Linked DNA regions of Homo sapiens: regions 1, 3 and 4 are each linked to region 2. The links are contacts of gene promoters, found by promoter capture Hi-C in blood cells and fetal thymus (Javierre and others, 2016). All regions are on one chromosome and are shown on one strand. The core of a region is centred on a gene start or on the middle of the fragment in contact, and the rest is flanking DNA. Distances in the headings are between cores, read along the strand shown.

Region 1 (4,014 bases), core at 445-2,944, 550 kb after region 2:
TAACAGCACATTGAATTTTGAGCATTTTCCTATTAAAGATAGTTCAGAAGCATGATTTTCAGTTATTGCCTGTGGTCCATGGAACTCCTGTACCGCAAAGTATTTAGCCATGCCCTTTTTGATAGATCCTTATCTTGTTTACCATGCTAAAGTTTTATAAACTACACTTGTATATAAATCCCCACCCTTTTCTCTGCTGGGTTCCCCAGAGTAAATACCAAGGAGTGAAGATACCTGGCTGATATGGTTTGGCTGTGTCTCCACCCAAATCTCATCTTGAGTCGTAACTCCCACAATTCCCACATCGTGGGAGGAACCTGGTGGAAGGTGATCGAATTATGTGGGCAGGTCTTTTCTGCACTCTTCTTGTGATAGTGAGTGAGTCTCAAGAGATCTGATGGTTTTAAAAAGGGAAGTTTCCGGCCGGGCACAATGGCTCACGTCTGTACTCCCAGCACTTTGGGAGGCCAAGGCGGGTGGATCACGAGGTCAGGAGATCGAGACCATCCTGGCTAACATGGTGAAACCCCGTCTCTACTAAAAATACAAAAAATTAGCCAGGCGTGGTGGTGGGCGCCTGTAGTCCCAGCTACTTGGGAGGCTGAGCCAGGAGAATGGCGTGAACCCAGGAGGCGGAGCTTGCAGTGAGCAGACATTGCACCACTGTACTCCAGCCTGGGCAACAGAGCAAAAGTCCATCTCAAAAAAAAATTAAAAAAAAAAAAAAGGGAAGTTTCCCTGCACAAGTTCTCTCTTTGCCTGCCGCCATCCATGTAAGACCTGACTTGCTCCTCCGTGCCTTTCACCTTCTGCCGTCATTGTGAGCCTCCCCACCACACAGAACTGTAAGTCCAATAAACCTCTTTCTTTTGTAAATTGCCCAGTCTCAGGTATGTCTTTATCAGCAGCGTGAAAACAGACTAATACACTGGCCAAAGGGTAAGAACTGTTTGATTCCGGGTCTGGATTCCCAGCTTGACCTAGGTGATCCTTCTGCATGGTCAGTTTCAAGCTGGCATGGCTGGAGAGAAAAGATACTGAGAAATAAAAATAAAAATTTAAGCCCCCCCCCCCCAACCAACTGAACAGACCCCCTCTTGGCCAGGGGACCCCAGAGAAACCTGGGAAGCCGAGTTCCTGGCCATGATGGGATGGGAGGTTGGACACACTTCATTATCTGCCCCCGCTCCATAACCGATAACCACCATTAGGCTTTTTTCCTTAAGAGTTAAACAGAAACAAGCCTCTTTGAAAGACTTCAACATTGATACCAACCAACCATCTGACACTGCCCCTCCCTTTTTGTGGCACACAACAACTGACCAGCATTCTTTCCTAGTAAGAGACCACCAACCCTGGAGTGGTTCTGGCCAGCCTGTGGAGGATGTGCAGTGAAAGCTTTTGTGTCCTCTGATACACCTTTTGACATTAGAGGGCTGAAAACTCCACCTTCAGATCACGCTAACACTGCCATTTTTTGTAGGTGCTACCCATGAAGGGGGATGAAGCTCAGTTGCACATGTGCATATTTCTCTTCTCATAAATATTTATAACTCCTCCTGTAGCTTATTGAATATGTATATTTGGCCACCCTGATCAACATAAATTCCTGTCTTACTCTTCCAACCCTTGAAGTGCCTGTTTATGGCTTCTGGCCAGAGGCTACACTTCCCAGCCTATTCAAATGGCCACTCTGCAGGGTGCAACCTTTTATGATAAATAAAACTCTCCTTTCCAGGTTTATGAACCTCGTCATTCTTCAGTTAACAATACCCAGTATGCCAGTCTTTTGAGGACACAGTATTCAAGGAGGCTGAAGCTGGGAACCATCTGCACTCTTTAGGCAGGCCTGGGACAGAGCTGGATTCACTCAGACCTGCAGTTTTCACTCAAGGGAATTAGGGCATAAGGATGTTGTTACTGAGCAAGTGGTCTTGCTGCCTGATGCACACGGAAGCCGATACATATGGCACCAGCTTTTGAGAAAAGAAAAGCTTTATTGCAAAACTGACCAGCAAGGAGAGAGGAGGTGGGCTCAAATCCGTCTCCCTGATTTGAGGTATGGGGCAAGTTTTAAGGGATCAGGTGGCAAGAGAAAGTATTTATCAATGCTGGCTTGCCAGGGTCTGATTGGAGGGCTTCAAATTTGACCATATGTGGTAATGTATATTAAAGTAGATTTTAGCCCCAGACCTTCCAGGCTGATGGACCCCTTTGCTTGTGAATGAGTTCTGGTTTTCAACTTCTGGTCATGTCCCAGTCTTCTTGGTTCTAAGAGGACGAATCATTGGTTCTGGGTGTTGTTGGAGGTCAAAGTTTTTTCTACGGCACATGCCCAGGCTACATGACTTGCAGTTTTGGGCTCTGTTCTACCTAAAAGGCAGCTTGACATTTTGTTACCAACAGGGTAGGCCCAGTTTGGGCTGGTCCCACAACTACAGTGTCAGAACTTGGAAAGGATACTTGTACCCCAGTGTGCCAAAGTGTGCACCCTTTGTGACCAGGTGAAAACTTCTAGAGCATGAAGCAAGAGGGAAATAAAGAAGACTGTGTGTCCTTAAACTTCTTCCATGAGACCTTCTAAATCAGATGGGGGCAGGAGCTGTGTTAACCTTGACTGAGGTCAATGACTTCAAAAGCAGAAATGAGCCTGCAGCCTTCTACCCCTCCAGGTTCTTCTAAACACACAGAGGAATCCCATCCACTCGTGGGAGTCACTCCATCTGTCTCTCTGTCTCTCTGTCTGTCTAGGCCCCTGGATACTGGGCACATTAGTGAAGTGTCTGCTGCAATTCTAAGTGTGGTTGACACCATGAATCTTAAATTCCCAGGTGCATTGAATATAAGATGCACCCCAATTTCAGAAATGATAAAACATTTAAAGAAATAAATAATTTATCTGTATTTCACTTTACTTCCAAGGGGAAATTAGATGGCAGCCCATAAAATAGAGCAAAATAAAAATTAATGGACTTTTAAAAGTAAAAACAGGAGAAGAATATTTGGCTTCTCATCCAGATGAAGCTATGATTCATGCCCTGAGGTGCCTGTCTGGGCTGTGAACACAGAACAATAAAATATGCAAAGAAAATATTGAAAGGATATAAGTGGGCTCCAATCGATAAACAAGATAAACTTCACAATGGTCCAGAAACACAAACTTCTGAGTATTGACGTGGGCCTGCCGGGCTCTGGACCTGAGACATAATAGGGACCCAAGGCTGGGAACACAGCCAGGCTTCCTATTTGAATCCAGGGGATGGAGGAGAGAGGAGTCACCCCTGTGTCAGAAAAAAAGTCTGAAAAATTGGATTCAGTCATTTCATGGGGGTGGGGTGTGACAGTTTATGTGAAAGTGTGGCCCTGGGTCAAAGGAGAACACAGATATAGTCATCTTAATCTCTTGTCCCCTGGTTTAACAAGTAGACCAAGAGGGTCAGGATTCCAAACCACCAACAAAATATATATACACATATATATTATACACATATATGTATATATGTATGTATATGTGTATGTGTGTGTATATATAATATGCATATATGTGTGTGTATATATATATATTTCTTTACCACAGACCAGACATCAAGTGGACCCACCCCAAACTGCTAGATGGGGGAAGGGAGTACCAAGAGAGAAAGAGAGACAAAGTCTTTCAACACAAAATGAGTCTGAGATTCAAAATTCTGAAGCCCATGAAGACATCTTATGCTAAGAATAATAGTCAAGAAAAATCAATAACTGTAAGGTGAATTAACTCCAGAGGAAATTAAAATAATAGAAGAGTCTGAAAAAAACAGACTTTAAAGTAAGTATATTTGGGATGCTCAGTGAGAACAAGGAAGGAATAATATTTGTGAAAAGAACAGATTGTGGAGAAAAAGCCATATTGTACCAAGATCAGGTACCTGTGAAAAAGTACCTTTTAAAAGAAAATGTAGTTGATTTCCATTTCCAGTGAGATGGAGTAGATGCACTCATGCCTATTCTTTGCAGAAAACGTATCGAAAAACA
Region 2 (3,530 bases), core at 63-2,562:
CAAATATTGCAACCATCTTGCACTCTGCAGGGCAACCTCATGGCTTATCCTTTACAAGTGGCATACTCAGAAGAATAACGAGGAAGAAAGTGTAAGAAAAGAGGGCTGTTTGGGCAAAGAAAATCTGGTTGATTCGATGTTTACAGAGTGCCAGGCCCCATGCTTGATCTCATGAGGTCCTCAGACCTTATGCCTTAGGCTATCATTTCCATTTTACAGATAAGGAATTGAGGCTCAGGGAACTGAGAGTGAGGGAAGGGCAGGGGCCTGGCTGGTGCTGGGTTCTGTCTCTTTCCAGGCAAGAAGGGACATGTGGACTTGAATATTTAGCTCAGGGATGTTGGAGGCCTAGGGTGCTGCTATTTAAATGGAAAGGGTGTCAGGGTTTCTGGGAGGGAGTAAGGGGACAGAAGAAAAGATGCTTCTGTTATCAGAAGGGAGTGGCAACGTGACAGGATACTGAAGCTTCCTCTTTTCTTATTCTGTCTCGTTTCTTTCAATATACTTATCACAATGTGTGGCTGATATTTATTATGCCTTTTTCTTTTCTATTCTCTTTTCTTTTTTGGGGCAGGGGAGCTGTTTTGCCACCAAAACCTAAGCCCATGGCCGTCTTCTTCACCGATATGACTGGTTCTCATGCAAGCACCTAGATGGCCCTCGCCCATAATTACTGGCTGCAGTTGAGTGAATAGCGGTCATTATCTAGCGCCCACCGTGTGCCCGGCCCGGTGCCGGGAGCTTTGCTTTCCGTCTCTCACATTAGGCCCTTTTAATCCAACCCCCAAGAAGGAGACACGACCATCGTCTTCATTTTGACGATTTTGAGTGGGGGTTCCAATGACTTGAACGAAAGGAGCCAGGGCACCAATCCGGGTTTGTGTAGCAGATGCCGGTGAGACCCGACTACTGCAGCTCGGGGGTGGCCGGACCCGGGGTCTCCCCGCTGAGTCTCGGGGCTTCACCGGCGCGTGGGCACAAGCACAGCACCCTCGGGTCGGGGGTGCTAGGAGGGCTAAGAGCAGCAGGACTTGAGTGACACCCAACAGCTGGTCTGATCTCTTTCAGGCGCCAACGCCAGACGCCAGCCTCCCAGCGGACCCTCTCGCAGACCCACCTTCACCCCACGCGCCCTCCCCACACAGTCCACGCGCCAGCAGCTTCGCGGATGTCAGTGAACGCTCTTCGCTTGCGCAGTCAGAACGTCCTCCGCGGCCGTGTGAACATCCGGGTCACAGGCGCATAAGGACCAATGAGCGAAGGCATCGCGAGCCAGGGGGCGCGGAGAAGGCGGGGAATCATGGCCGCCCCCAGTGTTCCGCGTCCGGGGGTTTGTGGGAGTTGCCTTGACCTGCAGCTCCGCCACCGCGGACCCGCCTTCTGCCCTCAGCAGCAGACGCTCTGTCCCGCCCGGGCAGCTCTGCGAGGCAGCGGCTGGAGAGGGAACCATGGGGACTGTGCACGCCCGGGTAAGAGGCCCAGCGACCCGCGGGCTGCGAGGCCTCTGGGCCAGCAGGGCAGACGGGCGCCGCGGGGAGACGCTCTCGTGGCTGCGCCCAGGGTTCACCGGGAGAGAGGGTGCCAAGGGTGCCGGGCTGGGTGGAGGAGGCCGAAAAGAGGTCGCCTCGGGCCAGCGAGTCTTGCAGACCTTCGAGCAGGAACCTGATAGGAGGGACGAGACTTGGCTAAAGGTCACTCGGCGAGTCCGTGGCCCAAAGGACTTGCCAACTTTCTGTGATGTCTTAGACCGCAGTGAATGTGCTCTTTCTTTGCATGATTTTAAGTTTTCTCTCTTTACTGGTCACTTCCAGCCTTTCCCCGCTCAGCCGCTGCTGGAGCCATTGTAGGCTCCTAGAGCAACAAGAATCCTTTGAAGTCTTCTAACTCAAACCTATCTAGGGGTCCTCTTTTCTCCTGTCTACCGTGCAAAAGACGGAACCGCTCTCTGCCTTACTTCCTGTTTTAAAGTGGAGGTAGTAATAGTACCTACCTCGCCTGGCTTAAAAGAGAATTAAAAGACAATGCATGTGAATACTTGGGTGCCTGGCGCCTGACTAACTGTACTGGTTGCCAAACTCCTCTCGTTTATCCTAATCTTAAATAAGGGCCAGATAATGAGTTACTTCTCCAAGGTCACATAGTTACTGGTTCCAAATGGCCTAAAACCTCAGATTTCCTGAGTCTCAGCCCCAACACTACTTTTCTACTGCAACTTTGATTGCTTCACTTGACCTGCATAGACGTTTTCAGTAGTTCCCCATTAACTTCCAAAAAAATTTAGCACAGAAGTCGCAGCCTGACATCGATAATTGGACTTAACTTCCCTTTATATGTCTTTCATTCAGATCAAACACCGTTTCTCTTCTGACATCTCTTTGTGTAACTGTAATAGGTCTGTTGCTCAGTGTGCTCGATAAGTCAATACACTCAGACAGTGGGTTGCAGCAGAGAAAGAGTTTCAGTTGCAGGGCCGCTGAACGAGGAGATGGGAAAAGAGAGGAAACCTCAAATCCATCTCCTTCAGGAGTTTGGACCTCATGTTTTTGCTGAAGTGTGGAGATCCTTGATTGGTGGAAGAGTGAAGGGTGAAGTTATGGGACAGGGAGATGAGGAAACTTCTCATGCTGATTCCGTTCCTCTGTTGCGGGGAGGAGTCTTCAAACTGGTTGGCAGCATCAGTTTTGCTGGAATTCGAGATCTGAAAAACATCTAAAGCAACTCTTAAGCAAAAGCCTTATGATTCTAATTTTAGAAATCCTATCTGTAAAATCAATGGGGATGCAAATAGTATCTGTGACTTTTGGTTACTAGCAAGTAGGTCAGAGTGCAACCTGAGCTCTTCCTGCCATCTTGGCTCCTGTGGCGGCCTGCCGGGAGCAGGACTTCTGAAAGGAAATATGTCTGGAAGGCTGTGGTCCAAGGCCATTTTTGCTGGCTATAAGTGGAGTCTCCGGAACCAAAGGGAGCACACAGCTCTTCTTAAAATTGAAGGTGTTTATGCCCGAGATGAAACAGAATTCTATTTGGGCTCATGTATACAAAGCAAAGAACAACATAGTGACTCCTGGCGGCAAATCAAACAAAGCCAGAGTAATCTGGGGAAAGGTAACTCGGGCCCACAGAAACAATGGCATGATTCGTGCCAAATTCTGAAGCAATCTTCCTGCTAAGGCTGTTGGACACAGAATCCGAGTAATGCTGTACCCCTCAAGGATTTAAACTAATGAAAAGTCAATAAATCAATGTGGATTTGTGCTCTTGAAAAAAAAAAGGCAACTTGATTAATGGTTAATTGTAACTACATTTCTTTTGAGATGGAGTCTCACTGTGTTGCCCAGGCTGGAGTGCAATGGTGCAATCTCCACTCACTGCAACCTCCGCCTCCCAGGTTCAAGCGATTCTCCTGCCTCAGCCTCCCATGTAGCTGGGATTATAGGCGCACGCCACCACACCCAGCCAATTTTTGTATTTTTAGTAGAGACGGGGGTTTCATCATGTTGGCCAGGCTGGTCTTGAACTCCTGACCTCAA
Region 3 (3,533 bases), core at 212-2,711, 610 kb after region 2:
ATCAACCTGAACTCCATGAGAAATCTGAAAGCCAGTTTGGAGAACAGCGTGAGGGAGGTGAAGGCCTGCTACACCTTGCAGATGGAGCAGCTCAACGGGATCCTGCTGCACCTGGGGTCAGAGCTGGCACAGACCCAGGCAAAGGGACAGTGCCAGGCCCAGGAGTATGAGGCCCTGCTGAACATCAAGGTCAAGCTGGAGGCTGAGATCGCCACCTACTGCCACCTGCTGGAAGATGGCAAGGACTTCAATCTTGGAGATGCCCTGGACAGCAGCAACTCCATGCAAACCATTCCAAAGACCACCACCCACCAGAGAGTGGATGGCAAAGTGGTGTCTGAGACCAACGACACCAAAGTTCTGAGACATTAAGGCAGCAGAAGCAGGGTACCCTTTAGAGAGCAGGAGGCCAATAAAAAGTTCAGAGGTTAAAAAAAATAAAAGAACTCTTACAACTCAATAATTTTAAAAATCCGGCTGGGCGGGGTGGCTCACGCCTGTAATCCCAGCACTTTGGGAGCCTGAGGAGGGCGGATCACCTGAGGTCAGGAGTTCTAGACCAGCCTGGCCAACATAGTGAAATCCCCTCTGTACTAAAAATACAAAAATCTAGCTGGGCGTGGTGGTGCATGCTTGTAATCCCAGCTATTCAGGAGGCTGAGGCAGAAGAATCACTTGAACCTGGGAGGTGGGGGTTGCAGTGAGCAAAGATCACGCCATTGCACTCCAGCCTGGGTGACAAGAGCAAAACTCTGTCTGGAAAAAAAAAAAAAAATTAAAAGTTCCCAAAAATGGGACAAAGATTTAAACAAACACTTCACCAAAAAAGATACATAAATGGCAAATAAGTACATAAAAATCATCTTCAACACCATTAGTCATTGGGGGAGGGGAGTACACATTTTAGTCACAGCAAGATACCACTACATATCCACCAGAATGGCTAAAATTTAAAGACCCTAACAAGTGTTGACAAAGATACGGAGCAACTAGAATGCATACATTGTTGGTAAGAATGTGAAATGGTACAATTGCTTTAAAAATCAATATGGCAATTTCCCGTAAAGTTAAACAAAATTGCTGTGACCAAACAATTCTATGTCTAGTTATTTATTCAATTAAAAAAAAAAGCAAGCACATGTCCACATAAAAACTTGTACAAGAATGTTCATAGCACTTTTATTTGTGATAGCCAAGAACTATTAAGAACTCAAATGTCCGTCAAGAGGAGAGTGGATAAATATTCCATTCTAAACCATGGAAGATCATTTAACCACAGAAAGGAGCAAACCCCTGAGGCCTGCAATACATGGATGACTCTCAAAAACATTCTACTAGGTGACAAAGCCTGATATAGAAGAGTATGTGCTGTGTGATGTCATCTATATGAACTTCTAGAACAGACAGGGCTCCTCTATGCTGATAGAAATCGGAACAGCACGGCCTGCAGGGGATGGGGAGGACAGGCGATGGAGACGGGGATCAGATGGGAGGGTGACCTGGTGAGAGATTTTCCAGCTGGCAGAAATGTCCTCTACCTTGAGGGAGGCGTGTGACATGGGAGTAAGTTTGCCAAAATTCATCAAACTGTGCTAAGATCTGTGCACTTCACTGAATATAAACGTCATTTAAATGTCTACTTCATTTAAAAAACAAAGAAGCTGATTGGAAGTGCTGAGCCCTTGGGTAGCGTTTTCTGACTGCGGTCTCCACTGCAGGTGATCTGGCGGATTGCTTCCCCGGGGGGTCACTGGGGGTCAGAGTGTGAGGATTTCCACTAGGAAGGTCAGTGGAACTGACCCCAACCAAAATGATCCCCCAGCTCCCCCCTGCTGCACGTGAGGCCTGGCTGCCGGTTTTCCGGGGGCTGCAAGGAGAAAGAGGCGGGGGTCTCCAATACTCAGTACATGCCCTGCTTTTGGAGTGGCATCCCCCAGTCCAGAGGCCTCTGCCAGACCCTTTCTTGATAATAAATCTTGGGGTTTCTGCCAGGCTCAGGGAGGGGCAATCTCCCAGTTGTGTAAGCAGTGGGAGTGGATAGCTGTCTCTGTCTCTGTCCCTCCCGTGAGAGGAAGACTAACTGCTGTTGTTTGAAACAATCCTCCTTCACTCCCCTCCAGAAATATCTGGCATCTCCATCCTCCCAGCCCATTGTTGCTTCTCATCTTTGCATGCTGCTGGCCGGCCATGTTTCAGCTTCTCAAGCTCACCTAGTGGGTTACGGCTCATCCACCAGGTTTCCAGTCTCCAAAATGTTGGTGCTTGGGCCTCCTCCCCTTTTCTCTTTCTGCTTGAGGGTAATGTCCGTAAAGTGATCTTTACCATCATTTTAGTGAGGGTTCAAGAAGAGGCAAATGTACATGTGTGCATCTGTGCCACCATCTTTGTCAGAAAGTCCAGTCTTTGCACCTTTTATCCTCATGGTTGCAATGTGGCTGCTCCTGCTCTGGGCATCAGATCCACATTCCAGGCAGGAAGAAGGGTGTGTGCCCCTGAGACCATCCCCTTTTATGGGAAATTAAACTGGCAGACTTCCTCTTATGTCCATGGCCACTCCTAGCTGCAAGGGAACCTGGTAACACCTATTTTTAAGGGGGCAAACTTTCACTCCAACAAAACAGGTTCTGTTTAAAGAGGAGAATGGATGGTTACACATCCTGCTTGGGATCCAATCACTGAACCAGAGGGGAACACCGTGCATGATGGGCTGGTAAGGCGTGGGGGTCAGTACAGCATGACACAGAAGGTGAGCTGGCTCCTTGAGGGAAAAACAAAGTGCTGGCCCCAGAGGCAAGGAAGGGTTGCTGGCGGGCAGAGAGGACGCTGTCCGGAGCCCACAGTAGATTCTCCTTGATCATTCACTCCCAGTTCCCTTCCTGCTCCTAGTTCAGTCCCTGACTCCTCTTCTCAGTGCTGTCACTGTCCCTGTCCTGGGACCAGGGTAGGGGATGGGAGGAGAGGTCTGCACGTTGCTGAGCCTTGTGGAAAGGTGACCGTGGACCTCTGGGAGGATGATCTCATCACTTTCTGAAGGAGGCGTCGAGCTGAGATGCTAACAATAGCCAAGCACGATGCCGGCCTGATTGGAGAGGCTAAAAAAAGCAGCTCATTCCAAAGCCTCATCAGGGAAGAAAAGGGCCACGAAGGCAGGTTTGCAGGGCTTTAGGGAGGAGGGGGAGAGGGATGCAGAGGGATGAACTGAGTGGCCTGAGTCTCAGCACAGCTGTGGCCATGGGCTGCCTCCATGTCCAGGAACACCAGGTCTGCCATGCACCACCCACCTGCCCCCATGTTTGCACAGGGCACCGGGGAAGACCTTCAGCCCTACTGGGCTACCCCTTGAGTACCCTCTCCTCCCACATTGGAAGGTCTTCTGCTTCCTGGAGCTTGGCCTGCCTCGGGAGGAGGAGAAAATGGTCCATGTCCCCAGAGAGCCCATGATGTGCCGGCCTAGGTGAGCACTCTTCGCACCTCATGCCATGGAACTTTTGCCACAGCCCTACCCACTTTACGGATGAGGAAATGGAGGCTCG
Region 4 (3,674 bases), core at 1,003-3,502, 640 kb after region 2:
GCCACAGAGCGAGACTTTGTCTTTAAAAAAACAAAAAAGATACAACTAATAACAAATAATTATAGGAATTGTGGTTACAAAAAATAATGCAAATGTTTCAGACTAAGATATTGTAAAATGATGATAATATAACTGAAGGGAGCGGCGAGGGGAGGGGAAGTGGGGCTCTGGATTCACGTTCCCTCCAGGGAGCTGGTGGACACTGTCTGAAATTGGCACAAGTCAGTAAATACTGACCACAATTTTCATCCTTTAATGTTCTTCAGAAGCTTTTTTAAAAAAAATTCATAAAGAGATCTTTGAAGAAATAGTTTACTTGAAGTTTCACGATTGCTTCAAATTCTTCTTAATTTTACTTGAATGTAAAAATTAAATAGAATATGTTCATTAATCATCTTTTTTTTTTTTTTTTTGAGATGGAGTCTCACTCTGTTGCCCAGGCTGGAGTGCAGTGGCACGATCTCAGCTCACTGCAACCTCCACCTCCCAGGTTCAAGCGATTCTCCTGCCTCAGCCTCCCAAGTAGCTGGGACTACGGGCACCCGCCACCACACCTGGCTAATTTTTGCATTTTTAGTGGAGACTGGGTTTTGCCATGTTGGCCAGACTGGTCTCAAACTCCTGATCAGTGATCCGCCTGCCTCAGCCTCCCAAAGTGCTGGGATTACAGGCATAAGCCACAGTGCCCGGCCCATTAGTCATCTTTTATAGTGAAATAACATCTTCAAAAAAGTCTCCCTCTCTCCCTTCATTTGTCCAGAGTGATGTTCAAATGCTATCAGAGATTGTTACTTCTGGAGAGCAGGATGTGCGTACTTTCTGCACCCTCAATATTGTTTTTTTCCTCCCTTATTTGTGTCCTGTTTGCCGAGTGTGGTGGTCACTTGAGTGTCCAGATCTCTTCCCGGGGCACATGATGGGGTCACGCACCTCCTGGTCCCCTTGATGCCAGGCGTGGCCATGTGGCTTTCTTTGGCCTATGCATGTAGAAATGAGATGTGAGAAAATGAGAGCTGTCACTTCAGAGGAGAGGCTTTAAAGTTACCGATATGTGGGGCTGTTTGTTACTGCAACACAACCTACATCCTTCTGACTGATACAATGAGCATGGATCATTTTATAAAAAGCCATAGAGTGTTTTTTTTTCCTAATCAGAAGGAGGAGAGAGGAGGAGGCAGAAAAGGAGGGAAGGAGGGAGGGAAAAAGAAAATTAGAAGCAAATATGCCAAAGTGTTCATGTAATTAATTTTGTGAGGTGGAAACCTGCATCCTTGTTAGTCCTTTGAAGTTTTCATATTTCTTTTCATTAAACATTTTTTTCATGAAATGAAATCAACAGTAATAGCTTGAGAGGCCACTGCCACCTCAGCACAAAGTCCCCATGATAGACACCCAAGTCCACCTGCTGGACCAAGCCTGCCACGCTGACCACCAGCCACAGACCACTTGTGGCATCCGCCAACGCTTGATACAGTCCCAGAGGAGACCCTCGAGTTAGCAGAGAGGTCGGACAGACCTCAGGCCAGACCTTCTGGGCCCTCCAGCCATGCAAGCACTGGCACCAAGGGTCTGCTCCATCTTGCACAGTTAGCCAACCTCACAATGCAAGGGCTACAGCCCCACTTGGCAAATGGCAAAGCTCACATCAGACTGGCCAACTTGTCTGAGGCTATACGGCAAGTAAGGGAGGTCAAATTCAAGCTCCGGGCTGGTCTCTAAGTCTCTCCATCCCTCATGAGGGCAGCCAGCCTCTCGGGATGGATTTAAAGTGTCATGGCTCCAGGGCCGAGAGAGCTTCCAGGCCAGGACCTGAGTGTATTCTGGGTGGTAAAAGGACCACCGGGTAGACCTTGGGGCCGGGCTGCCAAGGCCACCCTGTGAGCGAGGACAGGGGCGGCACTGGCCCAGGGCTGAGGGGCTGCGGGCAAGGCGGCTGGCACCCTGTGGGACACCAGGCATGTCGAGAGGCCCCACGGGAGGGAGGAAAGGGGCCGTTGTATGAAAGCTGGTCACAGAGCTCCTCTTTGGGGAGACTGCCCAGGATTTGCCCACACCCCAGCCCCCTTTACCCACGGCTGGTGAGAGTGTGGCTTTCCCAGAGGCCTGTTCCTAGAGGCTCCCGAGAGGGCCAAAGAGAAGACAACAGCTCAGACCACTGAGTGGGAGACAGGGGCTTTGAGAGAGGGGAATCGAGACCACACAGGGCCCTGGGCTGAGACCCTGGGAGCTGAGGAATTCCTGGTGGTGAGAATTCCTGGACCAGCTCTAAGATCAGCAATGCCGTACCAGGCTGGTGGAGGTAATTGTCCACTCCCCACCACCACGTCCCCCTATCTAGAACCTTCTGCAGAGCCTGAGGCACACCGTGGCCTATGAGAGCGGGTGCTTTAGTGCAATCAAGGGCTGGAAGCAACACTTGGGCCAAGGCAGGTGGAGACGGGAGAAGAAACCTCCAGGGCTGGATTTGAGGAGCTGGAGAGGCGCCTCCGACGCTGGCATCCCAGCAAGAGGAGACCAGGAAAGTCAGGTGTCAGAAAGTCACCAGGAGGCGGGGCCACCAAATTAGACCCAGCTGAGGAGCTGGGACAACAACCCCAGCGCCCAGCCCATCTCACCTCACTACATGCTAACGTGGTGGAGAAGAGAACACCCATAGCACAGATGAGGACACTGAGGCTCAGGGAGAAGCCAGATCTCCCCAAGGTCAACTAGCACTTAGAGTGGGGCCCAGCCCGGACTTCTAGGCCTGGGGAGTGGCAGAAGGGTCCCAGGTGTGGCTGTGACTGCGGGAGCCTCCCTCTGTGAGTGCCAATTCCCTCACCGACTTGGGGTCTCCCAAGAGGCCACCTCACCTGGCCATGCAAGGAGGAAGCAGCAGAGACCTAAACAGTCATACTCCCTCCCGGGCCTGCGGTAAGGACAAGTGAGGACCCATACCCGGGCTGAAGCTGCTCACCCTCAGCAGCGCTGGCGTCCTTGTCTGCCCACAGCTGCCCAACCGCCTCCATGAACTGGGAGGTAAAAGACGCCTCCTTCCGCACCCTGCCGGGCTGTCCTGCCTGTGACCACACTGCTGCCGACCCAAGTCCTCGCAAGGCCCTGCCCCACTCTGCAGCAGGCAGGCCCCCAATTCAGCCCCCTGTCCTTGCCCGGAGACTCTGAGACCCCAGCACCCCCTCCAGGCAACCAACCTCCAAACTGTGGCTGCGGCTCTTTGAGGCCGTATTTGCAGGCAACTTCAGAGCTAAAAATTTCAAGGCAGGTAAAGGGGAGTGGGGGTGCCCCTCCTTTTCCATCCTGCTGTTACGGCCTCCCCCTGGCACCAGGAGGCCCTGCTCACTGCATCTGGGTGTGCAGATGGGATGGAGACGCTGATACAGGGGCAGAAACAAAGCAGCAGGCAGCAGCCAGCACATGGGGAGACACAGGCTCCACAAGCACACACCGTCAGCGCCCCCACTCCCAACTCCACCAATGCAGGGCGTGGGGACACAACCAGGCTGCCCTGTGACCTGTGACCACTGGGAGAGGGCTTGGCCCTCGCAGACGCTGACCCTGAAGGCACAGTGGACCTGCCCACTGCAGCTAGAGGCTAATTTTCAGTTCTCTAAATTGGGGAGAGAAGAGCATGTGTCTCCCAGCCGTGTGGGGAGGACACAGAGGACAACCCAGAG

Evidence for each region. Contacts are between HindIII fragments. The CHiCAGO score rates a contact against its expected background, and 5 or more counts as called.
Region 1: a fragment that was not itself captured here is called in contact with the fragment with the promoter of SAMM50 in region 2 in 5 of 17 cell types (total B cells, naive B cells, naive CD4 T cells and 2 more); the score reaches 8.5 in total B cells.
Region 3: the fragment with the promoter of LINC00207 here is called in contact with the fragment with the promoter of SAMM50 in region 2 in 2 of 17 cell types (endothelial precursors and monocytes); the score reaches 6.6 in endothelial precursors.
Region 4: a fragment that was not itself captured here is called in contact with the fragment with the promoter of SAMM50 in region 2 in 1 of 17 cell types (endothelial precursors); the score reaches 5.5 in endothelial precursors.

Annotation. Positions count from the first base shown.
Region 1 is chr22:44,499,124-44,503,137 of GRCh38, forward strand. No RefSeq gene overlaps it. Among named protein-coding and RNA genes, the nearest start is that of RTL6, 2.9 kb to the left of the region's middle. The HindIII fragment of the contact is 596 bases long and covers 1,397-1,992 here.
Region 2 is chr22:43,954,130-43,957,659 of GRCh38, forward strand. It overlaps SAMM50 (SAMM50 sorting and assembly machinery component), which reads left to right and starts at 1,313. Exons shown (of 15, transcript NM_015380.5): 1 at 1,313-1,469. The coding sequence starts at 1,449. It also overlaps the pseudogene RPL35AP36. RefSeq lists enhancers at 538-1,290, 958-1,007, 1,088-1,167, 1,291-2,042, 1,848-2,057 and a silencer at 1,131-1,405. The HindIII fragment of the contact is 6,277 bases long and covers 464-3,530 here.
Region 3 is chr22:44,567,879-44,571,411 of GRCh38, forward strand. LINC00207 (long intergenic non-protein coding RNA 207) reads left to right here and starts at 1,462. Exons shown (of 4, transcript NR_028411.1): 1 at 1,462-1,563; 2 at 2,622-2,710; 3 at 3,498-3,533. It also overlaps the pseudogene KRT18P23. The HindIII fragment of the contact is 7,812 bases long and covers 1-3,533 here.
Region 4 is chr22:44,588,568-44,592,241 of GRCh38, forward strand. No RefSeq gene overlaps it. Among named protein-coding and RNA genes, the nearest start is that of LINC00207, 21 kb to the left of the region's middle. The HindIII fragment of the contact is 3,971 bases long and covers 268-3,674 here.